5 separate regions of the Homo sapiens genome follow, and all the other regions are linked to region 4. Evidence: promoter capture Hi-C in 16 types of primary human blood cells and fetal thymus (Javierre and others, 2016). All regions are on one chromosome and are shown on one strand. Each heading gives the region's core, a stretch centred on a gene start or on the middle of the fragment in contact. The rest is flanking DNA. Distances are from core to core; before and after follow the strand shown. Region 1 overlaps ATAD1 (ATPase family AAA domain containing 1). Region 2 has its middle 22 kb from the start of ATAD1. Region 3 overlaps ATAD1 (ATPase family AAA domain containing 1). Region 4 holds the start of LIPF (lipase F, gastric type). Region 5 has its middle 5.5 kb from the start of ATAD1.

Region 1 (2,700 bases), core at 63-2,562, 860 kb after region 4:
TTTAGACGGAGCCTTGCTCTGTTGCCCAGGCTGGAGTGCAGTGGCATGATTTTGGCTCACTGCAACCTCTGCCTCCCGGCTTCAGGCGATCTTTAACTTGATAAAATGCATTTACTAAAACAAATGTATTTTATAGTGAAGAATTGGAAACATTCTCTTTATGATTAGGAGCAAGCCTGTTGTCTTTCATTACTTTTCATTACTTTTTTTTTTTTTTTGGCTTTTCTTTGTTTACTTTGTTTACTTCTTTGTTTACTTTTACTTCTGTTTAACATTTTACTGAGTTACTAGCCACTGCCTAAGTCAAAAAGGTGGGGATTGGAAAAGAAGAAACTAAATAGTCATTATTAATGGATAATATGATAATCTACATAGAAAGCCAAAGAATGTTTACAAGCTATCAGGATTCATGAGAGTTTGATGGGTTTGCTGGATTTAAAATCAGTATACGAAAATCAGCTGTTTCTGTATACCCATCATGTTTTAAAATGTCATTTAAAAAAAGCATTATATAGTAGCATCAAAAATATAAAACAACGGACAAACATAAGACATACAACACATTCATAGAGAAAATTATAAAACTATTGAAAGTTTAGTTAAATTCAACATCAGTACAAAAATACTGGCAGATTTTCGTTTTGTTGTATTTTTTCCTGAAATTCATGTGGAAGAACAAAAGTCTATAAATAGGGAAGGCAATCCTAAAACACAAAGTTTTATTTAACTACTTTGGGTCTTGAGTTTTCTTATCTGTAAAAGAAATAATAATAGCACTTACCTTGTTGGGTTGCTATTGAAATTAAATATATAATGTAAAATATAACAGTGCTGCATAAGTGTTTCCTATTATTTTTATAACTTAAAAGATTTGTACTGAGGACATATATAGAATGCATCTGAATCAGTAAGAAAAAATAATAGAAAAATGGGCAAAGAAACTTAAATAGACACATTAAAAAAGAAAAATCTCCAGTGGTCAATAAACATATGAAAAGATGCACAAACTGATTAGAAATCAAGGAAATGCAAATTAAAGTCAAATTGATATACCTTTTCACCCCTGCCAGGTTGTAAAGTTTTAAGTCTGTCAATAACGTGCTGGAGAGAATGTGGAACAGTAGGAACAAAAGTATTGCTGTTGGGAATATAAATTAGTATAACTATTTTGGAAGATAGTTTGGCATTATCTAGTAAAGTTGAAAATGTGCATAGTCAGTGATCCACAAGTTTCATTCTGGGCATATAGCGAAGAACCAGGAGATACATACAAGAGTGCTCATAGCAGCCCTGCTTGTAATGGAAAAAAGCAGGAACCAATCTGAATATTTGTATAAATGTTGGTATATGCACATATAGGAGAGGAAAAACACTTTTCCTTCTACCGTTCTGAATTCTCATTTGGGCCTCTATAACAAAAGATAGATAAACAAGAGAAAAACAAACAAGTTTATTAACATGTATCAAGCATGCAACCAATAGGAGTACCAGAGATGAGTAACTCAAAAGTTTGGTTAGAACTTGAGTGTATATAGTATCTTGGCAAAGAAACAAATTTTTAAAGAAGCGATCAGACAAAAGAAAAGGAGTCTCTAGGGGCAGCAAACTGTGGGAAACTAATGGTAGATGAAGACTAGTTGGTAAAGTTTGTTATGCAGATTCCTCTGGCTAAGTGTCTAAAGTTGTCTCCTTTGATTAACTTTCGTCCTTCCTCGTAAAGAGAAGAGGAGGGAGACCTTTGTGAATTTATTGTTTTTAGGCAAGTAGGAGTAGGGCAGATAGCTTTTCTTGTATCTGTTTTTTTCTAAATTTCCCTCAACTCAAAATAATTATTATGCCAGAGTGGCATACTTTGGTCTGCACATGCCAGAGCATAATATTCGCGGAGAAAAGTGAATGAAATACAGATGCTCAACAACTCTAAGAAATAGTGAGATGAAAATGTCACAGAAGAGTACATATAGTGTGATCCCATGTAGACATTCTGAAACATGTAAAACTAAACCTTAGGGAATCAAACATATGGTTAAGTTAAAGAAAAGCAAGAGATGATTTCAATTTAGGATTGTGATTTTTTTTTCTGGGAGACGAGAAGATCTGTATTTGGAGAGGGCCTCACCGAAGGACTTGAAAGATAATAATAATGTTCTTGTTCTTAAACCTGGATTGGTATTGATTATATTGTGTTTCTTTATACCTCATCTAAACAGTCTAAGATATTATTTTATCTACCTAGTTATTAGTAAAAGCACTGTAAGAACTTAAAAAAAAAAATGACCAGAGGAGTGAGAATAAAACCAAGATGATGTTTAGGGTACTGGTGATAGTCTTTTCTACATGAATACATCTGAAGTACACAGAGTACTGCAGACAGTCATAGTGGTTCACTGTGGCAGTGATTGTCAACTGAAACACTATGTTCTGCAAAGAAATAATCAGAATTTGGGGAAGTTTGTGGGGTGGCAAATATAATTTTTTAAAACCTCAGAGATTATTTGGTTATCCCTCTTCTCACTTCTTTCCCACTGTCTGGGGAATCACTTGCATAAAGTCACCATAGCCAAAGAAGGAGAAGGTTGCAAAAGAGAATTGATTTTAAACGTGTTATAGAATGGTCAAGGAGAAGAAGAGGTCATGAGGAATATGATCTAAGAAAGTGATCAGTAAATTTAGTGAAATTAAGCTTGGAGAGAGTAATTT
Region 2 (2,700 bases), core at 34-2,533, 820 kb after region 4:
TTAAGAGTCTAAGAAGGCTGCATTTGCCTCTGAATCACTCTATGGTCAAGGCCTTGTATTGTGAGAACAGCCCAATCATATTGACCTGGCACATGCTTCTCTGAAGTCACATGTCCAGCATTGTGACATGAGCAAGAATGCAGGCAACCTCTTGATTCCACTCATTCAAAGTTCTCTGTGGGGACTAGGTTCAGAAGATGTCATCTCCCCCATAGACTAGCTTCCCAGAGAATGTCACCTGCAAACTAGAATGATGCTAGTCTCAGCTTAACTGTGCAAAGAGAAAACCAGAACGCGCTCCCCAGGAACAAGGTTCATTCACAGTTGTCAGAAGGTACATTAACACTTAGAATCAAAACTTCATATAGGCTCTAGTGTAAAGCTTGACAACTCCTAACTACATCTTAGCTTTCACTACAGTGGAAGCAGTCCTGCTTCCACTGAAGTTTCTTAGAGATTAAAAAAAAAAATTACTAGGTAAATCTTTGTACCTTTGTACTTCTCATGCTAGCAGTTTTTTTACGTATCAGAGAGATGCTCAGTTAAGTACTCATAAGCTCCGTGACTAAAAGACTACATACTTTTTCAATTATAAACAAACATACAAATACAACTTATCAGCTGGATATAATATAGCCCTGAGATAAAAATATCATCATATATTACTTTACATTATCATGTCATGTTATGTTCTTTCTACGCTTTGGTATGGGACATTATGTATGTTCTTTCTACACTTTGGTATGGGACACTATCTGGAAAGACCTTAATCACTATTTATATTTTATGTTTTCCAAAGGGAACATCAACAGAGGAAATGTCAAACTTAAGAAATATTCTGTTCCCTGAAGGGGTGAAAAAAGGGCTATGAGGCCTAGTTAATTACAAATCAAACATAGTAATATACCTGTTTCCTCAGTTGCAGTAGAAATAACCAAAATTCCCTCAAATGTGCACTCCTAATTTTGTTCAAGAAACTAACGTTTCTCTTTCAAACAAGTTCTGATGAAATTATCATTTTCTTTTTTCTTTTTCAGAGATAGGGTCTCACTCTGTCACCTAGGCTGGAGTGCAATGGCGCAATCATGGCTCACTGCAGCCTCAACCTCCTGGGCTCAAGTGATCCTCCCACCTCAGCCTTCAAGTAGCTAGGACTACAGGGGCACACCACAACACCCGGCTAATTTTTTACTTTTATTTTTAGAGACAGGGTCTCACTATGTTGCCCAGGCTCATCTCAAACCTTTGGTTTCAAGCAATCTTCCCGCCTTGTCATCACGAAGTGTTGGGATTATAGGCATGAGCCACTGCATCCAGCCTGAAATTATCATTTTCTAATATTTCTCTTTTAATTTTCTCTAAGATGGAAGTAGCCAAATCACAATTAAGGTTTAATTTCACAGAGTATCCTGATTAACTCTGGAACAATGTAACATTTTAGTAAAATTATAGTGTGGGAGAGAAAAACTACAGTATTTTTATTCTAGAATTGAGGTCAGTAATAATCTTTTTATTCCTAAATGACTCAAACAGAGTTAATTCATGTCTCTGGCCACCACTGGCAGGGCTAAAGCCTGGCCATGAAGTGAAGGACAATATGGAAAGGTGGAACAGGAATAGGAAGGCAGCATACAAGGAAAAGATGAGAGGTGTTGACAGATTTTTAAAGAGGATAAAGATCAGCAGCTTTTTACAATCCCATTACTTCTTTAAATCTACTAATTCATCCAGGTTCACAGATATAAAAACTGTGAGGAAGAGAAAAAGAAGAGGGAATGGATGAGATGGAGAAGATTACTGGGGGCGGCGGGGGGGAAGAAAGAAAGAAGCCCATTTGGTGGAAAGCAATAGAGCATAACATGAAATTGCCTTAGGTACAAAGCTCACTGATCTATTCTAGAGTCTTCGTCCCACTTGAGACAATAGCCTAGTTCTAGTCCAGTTCCACTCCAATTATAAGGACTTGTCCTTCTCTTGATGGTCAAGAATTACTCATGTTCTGTTTACTATTAGATAAAAATTTATTTAAAACTACTATCTGCAGAAGACAAGCAAATTGCTTTATCTTCCTTCTACTCATTTATATTATTCAATACGATCCTCGTTTCTTATAGTTTAACAGGATGTATGTGAAAGAAATGGACTGTTGGCTCCTAACCATAAGTTCTCTTTGAGGCAAGCTTCTCAGAGATAAAAATAAAAATAATTGGCCCAAACAGGACCTAGGTCACCTAGCCTTGAGATTATTTACAGAGAAACATCAGGCAAATTTAGTCAAGGTGACTGAAGACCAAACAATTAAGCAATAAATTAATTCAAAAAAGACATACCAAAATATATATATTTGAAGTGTTACAACTACATGGCACAAAATTATTGGATCTCTAAAGCTATCCATCTAGTGTTGGGGGATTTGTTTCTATTTCTGTCTAGAAATTCAGCTAAGTATAATTTGTTATAAATCTTGCAGAAAACATGTACAGGTAGAATTATAAAGAAAAGTAGTGACTGAATTGGGAAGAATGAGGCAATATGTAGTGCCAAGAATTTTTTCATGAATATGTTGGCAATTGTATTTGTCTGCTCAAGGTGCCAAAACAAAATACCATAGACTGAATGGCGAAAACAGCAGAAATCTACTTTCTCACAGTTTGAGAGGCTGGGAAGTCCCGAATCAAGGTGCCAGCTGATTTAACTCCT
Region 3 (2,700 bases), core at 13-2,512, 870 kb after region 4:
CTCTTCCCTTAAATGTACCAAAATTCTAGACTCCCAGAAGGAAAATGGATGTTTCACCATAAACCATATTGTTTGCACAAACAGTTTAGGCACAGTGAGCTGTTCTTGTCAAGAAATTGTGGCACTCTTCTGAAATCTAAGTTCCCACATGCCAGCCAAGGGCCAATCTTGCAAATATGCCTTTCTAAGGACAACAGTCTCAGGCCTACTTTGTTAACTCTTTTCTGTACGCATTTGTTTAGTAAAACTTTTATGTATTTGCCTTTGTGGTGTATAAAGCGTACTGCTTTAAGTCATGTGGATTTTTGTTTTATAGAGTTTAAACCTAAATTTTCATAATATGGTATGATAACACAGGATACTAAATCCCAGGTTTTCCATTAATGGCCTTGGCAAATGATTTCCTCTTTGAGTCTCAGTTCCCTCATGTATAATCTAGAGATAATAATACCTACTTTACCTACTTCATAAGGATTATTTTGAGGATGAGATTGATGTAATGTATAAGATCCTATATCAATATTTTGTAACAATAAGTATACATTTATAAATTCTATAAATAGAAAATATTTGCCTAATACATTAATGTTATATTGCTATAAATAAGTAGAATGAAGTAGTCCCATCTCCATATCTAGAAAATAAAAGTCTGCAATGTCTTAATATCTGTGTATACAGAGACATACACACACCCTAGAATTAAGCCTGCATTTGAATTTGGTTTATAGATTTACAATGGTACCTTCTTGGAACCCTGCCTATATTAATTTCTGAATAAATCTGTACTAACAGACTTAGTTTTTTGTTGCTGTTACAGTGAAAGTTATTTTTTTTTTCAGATCTGGCTGCTGGTTTGCACCTTCCCTTTTTATCATTTTTTTTTACATTTTGAAGGAAATGAATCTATTGTAAAGTATTGCTTCTGATTGGCCCCAACTCCAGCTCCTTTCAGGACAAGTGCCAGTCCTTTCAGGACAAGTTGAATCAGGTTTTTCTTGTCTATTTTGAAAATACGTATGCCCTGTTTTTATTTATAAAGATACTTCCTTAAGTTTTAACATAGTTGTAATTTTTTTTTTTTTTTTTTGAGACAGAGTCTCACTCTGTCACCTAGGATGGAGTGCAGTGGCATGATCTTGGCTCACTGTAACCTCCGCCTCCCAGGTTCTGGCAATTCTCCTGCCTCAGCCTCCCAAGTAGCTGGGACTACAGGCACACACCACTACACCTGGTTAATTTTTTTTTTTTTTTTTTTTTTTTTGTAATTTTAGTAGAGACGGGGTTTCAACCATGTTGGCCAGGCTGGTCCCGAACTCCTGACCTCAAGTGATCCGCTCACCTTGGCCTCCCAAAGTGCTGGATTACAGGCGTGAGCGACCACGCCTGGTCCATAGGTTTACTTTTGATGGATAAAATTCAGAAGCTATGTTTTGTAAGACCTTATTTCTAAAATTAATTTCTGTGATGCTTGACAACATCCTGTATAAAATAGGTACATTCCTGATGAGCTCTTTCCCATCAGCCAGTGCTAAATTATGTCTCAGCTGGTTCTCAGTATTCTTGCAGCAGAGTATTTTCTCCTTACAAGTGGAATGAATTTAGCTTATTAGACCCTTGCAGATTTTTGAGTACCTGACTTACAGATTTTTAATAGTAGATAGTTGACTATTAAATTCCTTTTTCCAGTTTCATAGCAGTTTATTTCATTACTGCTTGGAAAAGTCTTTACTTATGTTAATATATGATTTTAACTTATTTATGTATAATCATCAGATTAACATTTGTAATTTTGGGAGCGTTCTTTTTACTTTAGTGAGTGTACATTTGTAGTAAAATTCATGTTGACCTTAACTTTTGCCAGGTTACTTGGAGTGATATAGCAGGTTTAGATGATGTCATTACGGATCTGAAAGACACAGTCATCTTACCTATCAAAAAGAAACATTTGTTTGAGAATTCCAGGCTTCTGCAGCCTCCAAAAGGTATGGTAAAGGTATATATTCGCCTAAAGCATTAAAATCCTAGAAAACATTGAAACTTTCTGCCATTGTAGAACTAGTTTTTGTGAAATCAGATTCTCAAGAGGATGCTGAGATCTATGTGAACAGTTTCTTAAAATAATTGCTCATTCTTCAGCTTCTGAAATTGAGATAAACTTTTTCCTGTATTTACATGTTAAAATACTTGTTAAAATAATCTCCTTCAATTTCTTTTCTCTTACTTCCAAGTAAATTAAAATTTGGAAAATCAAGATTAAAGAAAGATTCAAAGTCATAATACAAGTTTTTTGTTTTGTTTTGTTTTGTTTTCAAGCCAAGACATTTTTTTCTTGTTTCACAGCTCCAACGATCTTATTTTTAGAATGTAATGATTCTTTTTCAGGAAATATTTATCTGCAGATGAACTAGAAATTAAATATTTAACTTTGATGGAGATGTTTGCTTATTCAAAATCACTTTGAAAGTCTTGGAACTCAAGAATTGAATATGCTCATAACTGCATCATTAAGTGTAATTCTTGTTCATTCAAATCTTTCTTTTTTTTTCTTTTCTCTCTTTTCTTTTCTTTTTGAGATGGGGTCTCACTGTGTCACCCAAGTTGAAATGCAGTGGCATGATCTTGGCTCACTGCAACTTCCGCCTCCCAGGCTCAAGTGATCCTCCCACCTGAGCCTCCTGAGTAGCTGGGACCACAGGCATG
Region 4 (2,700 bases), core at 77-2,576:
CGTCTCAAAAAAAAAAAAAAAAAAAAAAAATCAGTTTTTAACTAAGCCTTGTTTTTACCGTGATATTTTAGGAAGAGATAAACTAATATATAAAGACTAACCAGTAGTGTTGTAACATTCAAACCAGAGGCTTTCATCAAACATTTCAGGAACCCACATGACCTCCATTAAGTGATTTGCCATTGTAAAGTGAGGACACTTAACCTACTGTTTGCGTTGGAGAACATCTCAATGGGCTCAAAGATGTTCAAGGGCAGAATAAATTTCTCAAAATGCTTGTTGCCAAGTCCTAGGAAAATACCAGTAATTAACACATACAGAGGACTCACTGTGTGCTGTACTGTGTGTTCAACATGGTATACGTGAAATGAACTATCTTGCTAAGACAGTGTTCTCATCTATAAAACAGGGCCTGTAATAGTACATTTCTCTATGTTAGGGGAATTCATTATGATAACAAAAGTAAAGTTCTTAACATGCTGGGCATCTCATAAACGTTAGTTAAATATAGTTATTATGACTATTATCTCATTTAATTCTCATAGCAACTCTATGAAGTAGGTAGCATTATATTATCCATTTTACAAATAAGCAAGGTAAGGCTAAAAGAGGACTCGCCCAACCAAATATATAGAAAGTAGTGGAGCCCATATTTTAAACTAGTCTATTTCCAAAGGCTATGTTCTTCCCCACTGTAATACTCCTTCAGTATGACCCTGGGCCAGCTTTTATAGGGACATCCCCAGGGAGATTTATATAATTTGGTCTAGACTTCTGTTTTGAAAAGTTTATAATTTAAATAAATGTTTTAATAGCCTATAAGGTTTCACAATCGTATTAATAATGATCAATTCAACAGCAGTTGATTTGGATGATATTAAATATTAAACATAGCATATTAATACAGCCAATTATATGTCACTAGATTACTGATCTATTCCTTCTCAAAAAGAAGAGTCACAGAGACTAGACTTTCACATTAGGAACTTAATAAACAAATTTGTAATTCAATAGTTAAGAAATTATGAGACTTTCACATTAGGCACTAATTGCAATAATAAACAAATTTGTCATTCCATAATTAAGAGTCTCATGTCCATACAAAAAAAAGAATAAAATAAATCAAATCCTAGAGGAATAAGCCATAATTTAAACAGATACATTTATGCAGGTGAATATGCAACAAATATCTAAGCCTTTAAAAATGCATCACTTGGGATAAAGAAAAAATCTAATAATTCAAATAACAATTTTGTTCAGCAGAAGTTCTACTTACAGTTTCCTCAGAAATAGTTAGGATTCTGTTTCTCTGGCTGGTTAGTATTTTGGTCAATGTTGTATTGACTTCTTATATACAAAACCTTCAACAATGGTCAGATTCCTCATCCACTGATTACATTACCAAAAAGACTTACTATCTGGGCATCATCTAATGTTAACAGGACAAAACTAAAAATTAAATATTGCATTCATTTTCACATAATACTGAGTGCTCACCTTTAACTTTTAACAAAGACAAATATTGGCCAAAGTAGTTCTGAGGATTAAAATGATTTAGGAACCATTAAAAATAATCCTTGATAGCCTAAACATATAAACGTTTTTGAGCCAAAGGTATAATGCAAATGATTATATAGTTTGGCTCAGATAGAGAGGCATAAAATGACAAAAGGCCACCTGTTATTCTTTAAAAATGCAGCGCATAAGCTATTTTGACTAGATGGTTAGATAAGTGAATGTGTTCAGCAAAGATTAATATTTTATTATGGTCTTTGACCAGGGTCTCAAATCCTACAGATAATGGTCTAGCTATCATACAAAACCCAGCCCTTGACCTTTAAGAACATATTTTTGGTGTCTTTTTCCTTCTAAGAAATCTAGGCTTAATACCTGGACGATGAAACAATCTGTACAACAAATCTCCAGGACACAGGTTTACCTATGTAACAAACCTGCACTTGTACCCCTAAACTTAAAATAAAAGTTAAAAAAAAGGAAACAAAAAAATCTATGGGTTATAGTTTGAACAATATGAATGTGTTTATTAAAAGTATATATTAAATTATGTTTTAAAATACAGTTGATCCTTTACAACCATCATGAGCATCTGTTGCTCGTGGGATACATGTGCGGAATGTGCAGGTTTGCTGCATAGTATACATGCGCCATGGTGGTTTGCTGCACCAATCCACCCATCATCTACATTAGGTATTTCTCCTAGTGCTATCCCTCCCATTGTCCCCTAGCCCCTGGCAGGCCCTGGTGTGTGACGTTCCCTTCCCTGTGTCCATGTGTTCTCATTGTTCAACTCCCACTTATGAATGAGAACATGCGGTGTTTGGTTTTCTCTTCCTGTGTTAGTTTGCTGAGAATGATGCTTTCCAGCTTTATCCATGTCCCTGTGAAGGACATGAACTCATCCTTTTTCATGGCTGCATAGTATTCCATGGTGTATATGTGCCACATTTTCTTTATCCAGTCTATTATTGATGGGCATTTGGGTTGGTTCCAAGTCTTTGCTATTGTGAATAGTGCTGCAATAAACATATGTGTGCATGTGTTCCCTACAGTGGAATGATTTACAATCCTTGGGGTATATACCCAGTAATGGGATTGCTGGGTCAAATGGTATTTCTGGTTCTAGATCCTTGAGGAATTGCCACACTGTCTTCCACAATGGTTGAACTAATTTACACTCCC
Region 5 (2,700 bases), core at 87-2,586, 840 kb after region 4:
TGTTTCAATCTTTAGAAATTCATAAAAGCAAAGAATGTATACTCAATAAATGATTGTTACTTGACAGATGGGAATAACAGCCAATATTAATGATGGTCTCTGAACTGAGAAATATCCATAATTTTCATGGATCGATAAATACGTTAAACTTTATTATCTTTGGGTCGTAGGGATGAAATCTTACAGGTTTTATATAACTATCATAAATGTTTTATAGACTACTGATCAGTAAGACTCAGCCAGAGGGGTGTATTAAGAATGGGAATGTGAGAACCAAGAGGTCAGCAGGACAGAGAGGCACAGCCTCTTCACAAGTCAGAGAAGATAAACATTTCAGACAAGATGCCATGGTTGAAAACTGAAGAGGTAAGGTCCTCATGCAAACACAGAGGAGATATGAAAAGATCATTGTCCTTACAGAATCTAGGAATGAGAGAATATCACCTCATCGTATAATGAAAATAACATCTGAGGTATTACACCAGCATGTTTACTGAGCACTTGCTAAGTGCCAGGCATTGAGCTCAGCACTGTACATGTATTGTCTCATTGAATTCTTAGTGCAAGTCCATGGCATGTGTACTGTTACTGTTCCCATATTAAATATAAGGAAACTGAGGCTTGAGAACATAAGTAACTTGTCCAAATTAACAGAGTCAGTATACAGTAGATCTTAAATTCAAACCCAGGTCTGTCAAGTTCACGTTCTTATACCCTATAGATACCAAGACTCCCCGATTGGACTAGTTTCTAATGGACACATCAGGATAGGGCAATCATATAATTATCATCAGTAAAATGGTTTGAATCGTATGTCATACCTTTGGACCACTTGTCTTTCCTCCCCCCTTCCCTTTTTTTTCCTCTTTAATCAGGTTAAATCTATACCTCTCCTATGTCCTAGGCATCCTCTTTTCTCTCTAGTCAGGTTAAATCTTGTTAAGCCTCTCCTATGTTCTAGGCATCCTCTTTTTTCAAGATGATAATATATTATAGGAGAATAAAGACTTCAACTATAATTCTGTGAGCTGAGTACTATGCCAGTGCTAACCAAAGTGAATTACGGGAACTAACAGAATGGACACAGAGTTTAGTGTACTTGTGCTTAGAAGATAAAAGACCTCAAATTATTCTTGTTCATTTTAGTTTCACATATGTTTCAAGGTTATCAGTTATTCTGGCTATTAGAGAAACGGGTGGGAGGAGGAAGGTTTTATGCGATCTTAATTTTTAAAATATTAAGTACCAGTACCTATTATTTTCTAAATACTTTCAAGGGCATTTTCCTAGAATCAGGTAAATGAGAGAAGGCAAGTGACCTACTTACAGCAAAAATTGCTCTAGGTTATAAAGGATGGGAAGCCAAGTGCATCCTGAAAACCACAGCATCTGGTCTTGTTTTATGCCTCATCTATCAATCTGTTGTTACAGGAATTGAGAATTAACATTTCAACTATTGTTTCTTCTATTTTAACTAATGCATTTGTATCTTTGTTATTCTTACTCAATCTTTCCCACCTCCTCCCCATTTAAGAAACCATAGGCAGGGGCATTATGAAGGTCCCAATTTAATCCTAGGGGGATCACTCTTTCATCTACGCCTTAAAACTTCTGCTAATGAGGCTACAGTAGGGTTAGACATCTGAAGCAATTCTGGTTTTGTTCAATCCTGATTTTTCACAGATAGTATCATTTGAACAGTACTGTATTAAAGCTAAATAAAATATTGTAGGTTGTAAATTTCCAAGTTCTAGAAAACATTTTTTGGTAGAAGTTTTTAAAAAGTACACTTGGCAATGCTGCTTGAGAAAAAGGTTACGTAGAAATGCAGATTGTGGATTAGTATTACCCTGATAACACAAGAAAATTATATATAACTTCTTTTTATATACACTCATTTAAAATTATGTGTAAAGTTTAAAAACATAAAACCATGGAAAGTAGATTTACAGCAATATGTTCTTTGAACTTTGCTGTTGTCTTTTTTTTTTTTTAGTTCTCTTCTTTTTACAGAATGGAGTTATCAATTCATCTTTCTACTTCTTCCAATCTTTTGAAATTTTAAATTTCCATTATTTTTTCCTTGATTCTATCTTATTCTTTCTTATTTTTATTTTTTAGTTTAGCTTTTTTTTCATTTTTTAAAAAAGTTTATGGGTACATAGTAGGTGTGTGTATCTATGGATTACATGATATATGCTGATACAGGCATACAATGTGTTATAATCACATCAGGGTAAATGAGGTATCCATTACCTCAAGCATTTATCATTTCTTTGTTACAGACATTCCAATTATACTCTTTTAGTTATTTAAAAATGCACAATAAATTACTGTTGACTGTAGTCACCTTGCTGTGTTGTCAAATACTAGATCTTATTTTTTCTATCTAACTGTATTTTTGTACCCATTACCATTCTCACTTCCCTCCTACCCCCCACCACTATTCTTCCCAGCCTCTGATAACCATCATTCTACCCTCTATCTCCATGAGTTCAACTGTTTTAATTTTTAGCTCCCACAAATGAGTGAGAACATGCAAAGTTTGTCTTTCTGTGCCTGGCTTATTTCACTCAACATAATGTCCTACAGTTCTGTCCATGTTGTTGCAAATGACAGGATCTCATTTTTTTAAATGGCTGAATAGTACTCCATTGTGTTCTATATTATCTTTCTATTGGAGCTTCAAGTACAGCTTCA

What was found. Contacts are between HindIII fragments. The CHiCAGO score rates a contact against its expected background, and 5 or more counts as called.
Region 1: a fragment that was not itself captured here is called in contact with the fragment with the promoter of LIPF in region 4 in 1 of 17 cell types (neutrophils); the score reaches 7.8 in neutrophils.
Region 2: a fragment that was not itself captured here is called in contact with the fragment with the promoter of LIPF in region 4 in 1 of 17 cell types (neutrophils); the score reaches 6.3 in neutrophils.
Region 3: a fragment that was not itself captured here is called in contact with the fragment with the promoter of LIPF in region 4 in 1 of 17 cell types (neutrophils); the score reaches 6.6 in neutrophils.
Region 5: a contact is called between a fragment that was not itself captured here and the fragment with the promoter of LIPF in region 4, in 1 of 17 cell types (neutrophils). The highest score is 5.7, in neutrophils.

Annotation. Positions count from the first base shown.
Region 1 is chr10:87,805,852-87,808,551 of GRCh38, reverse strand. All of the region lies in intron 2 of ATAD1 (ATPase family AAA domain containing 1), which reads left to right. Among named protein-coding and RNA genes, the nearest start is that of ATAD1, 11 kb to the left of the region's middle. The HindIII fragment of the contact is 2,747 bases long and covers 1-2,685 here.
Region 2 is chr10:87,838,821-87,841,520 of GRCh38, reverse strand. It overlaps a transcript of ATAD1 not described here and the pseudogene CFL1P1. Among named protein-coding and RNA genes, the nearest start is that of ATAD1, 22 kb to the right of the region's middle. RefSeq lists a silencer at 1-269. The HindIII fragment of the contact is 1,798 bases long and covers 385-2,182 here.
Region 3 is chr10:87,789,592-87,792,291 of GRCh38, reverse strand. ATAD1 (ATPase family AAA domain containing 1) reads left to right here. Exons shown (of 10, transcript NM_001321967.2): 4 at 1,862-1,982. The region is part of intron 1 of LOC124902476 (a long non-coding RNA gene); the gene reads right to left. Among named protein-coding and RNA genes, the nearest start is that of ATAD1, 27 kb to the left of the region's middle. The HindIII fragment of the contact is 4,695 bases long and covers 1-2,700 here.
Region 4 is chr10:88,663,068-88,665,767 of GRCh38, reverse strand. It overlaps LIPF (lipase F, gastric type), which reads right to left and starts at 1,326. Exons shown (of 10, transcript NM_004190.4): 1 at 1,277-1,326. The HindIII fragment of the contact is 12,070 bases long and covers 1-2,700 here.
Region 5 is chr10:87,822,386-87,825,085 of GRCh38, reverse strand. It overlaps a transcript of ATAD1 not described here and the pseudogene CFL1P1. Among named protein-coding and RNA genes, the nearest start is that of ATAD1, 5.5 kb to the right of the region's middle. The HindIII fragment of the contact is 8,192 bases long and covers 1-2,700 here.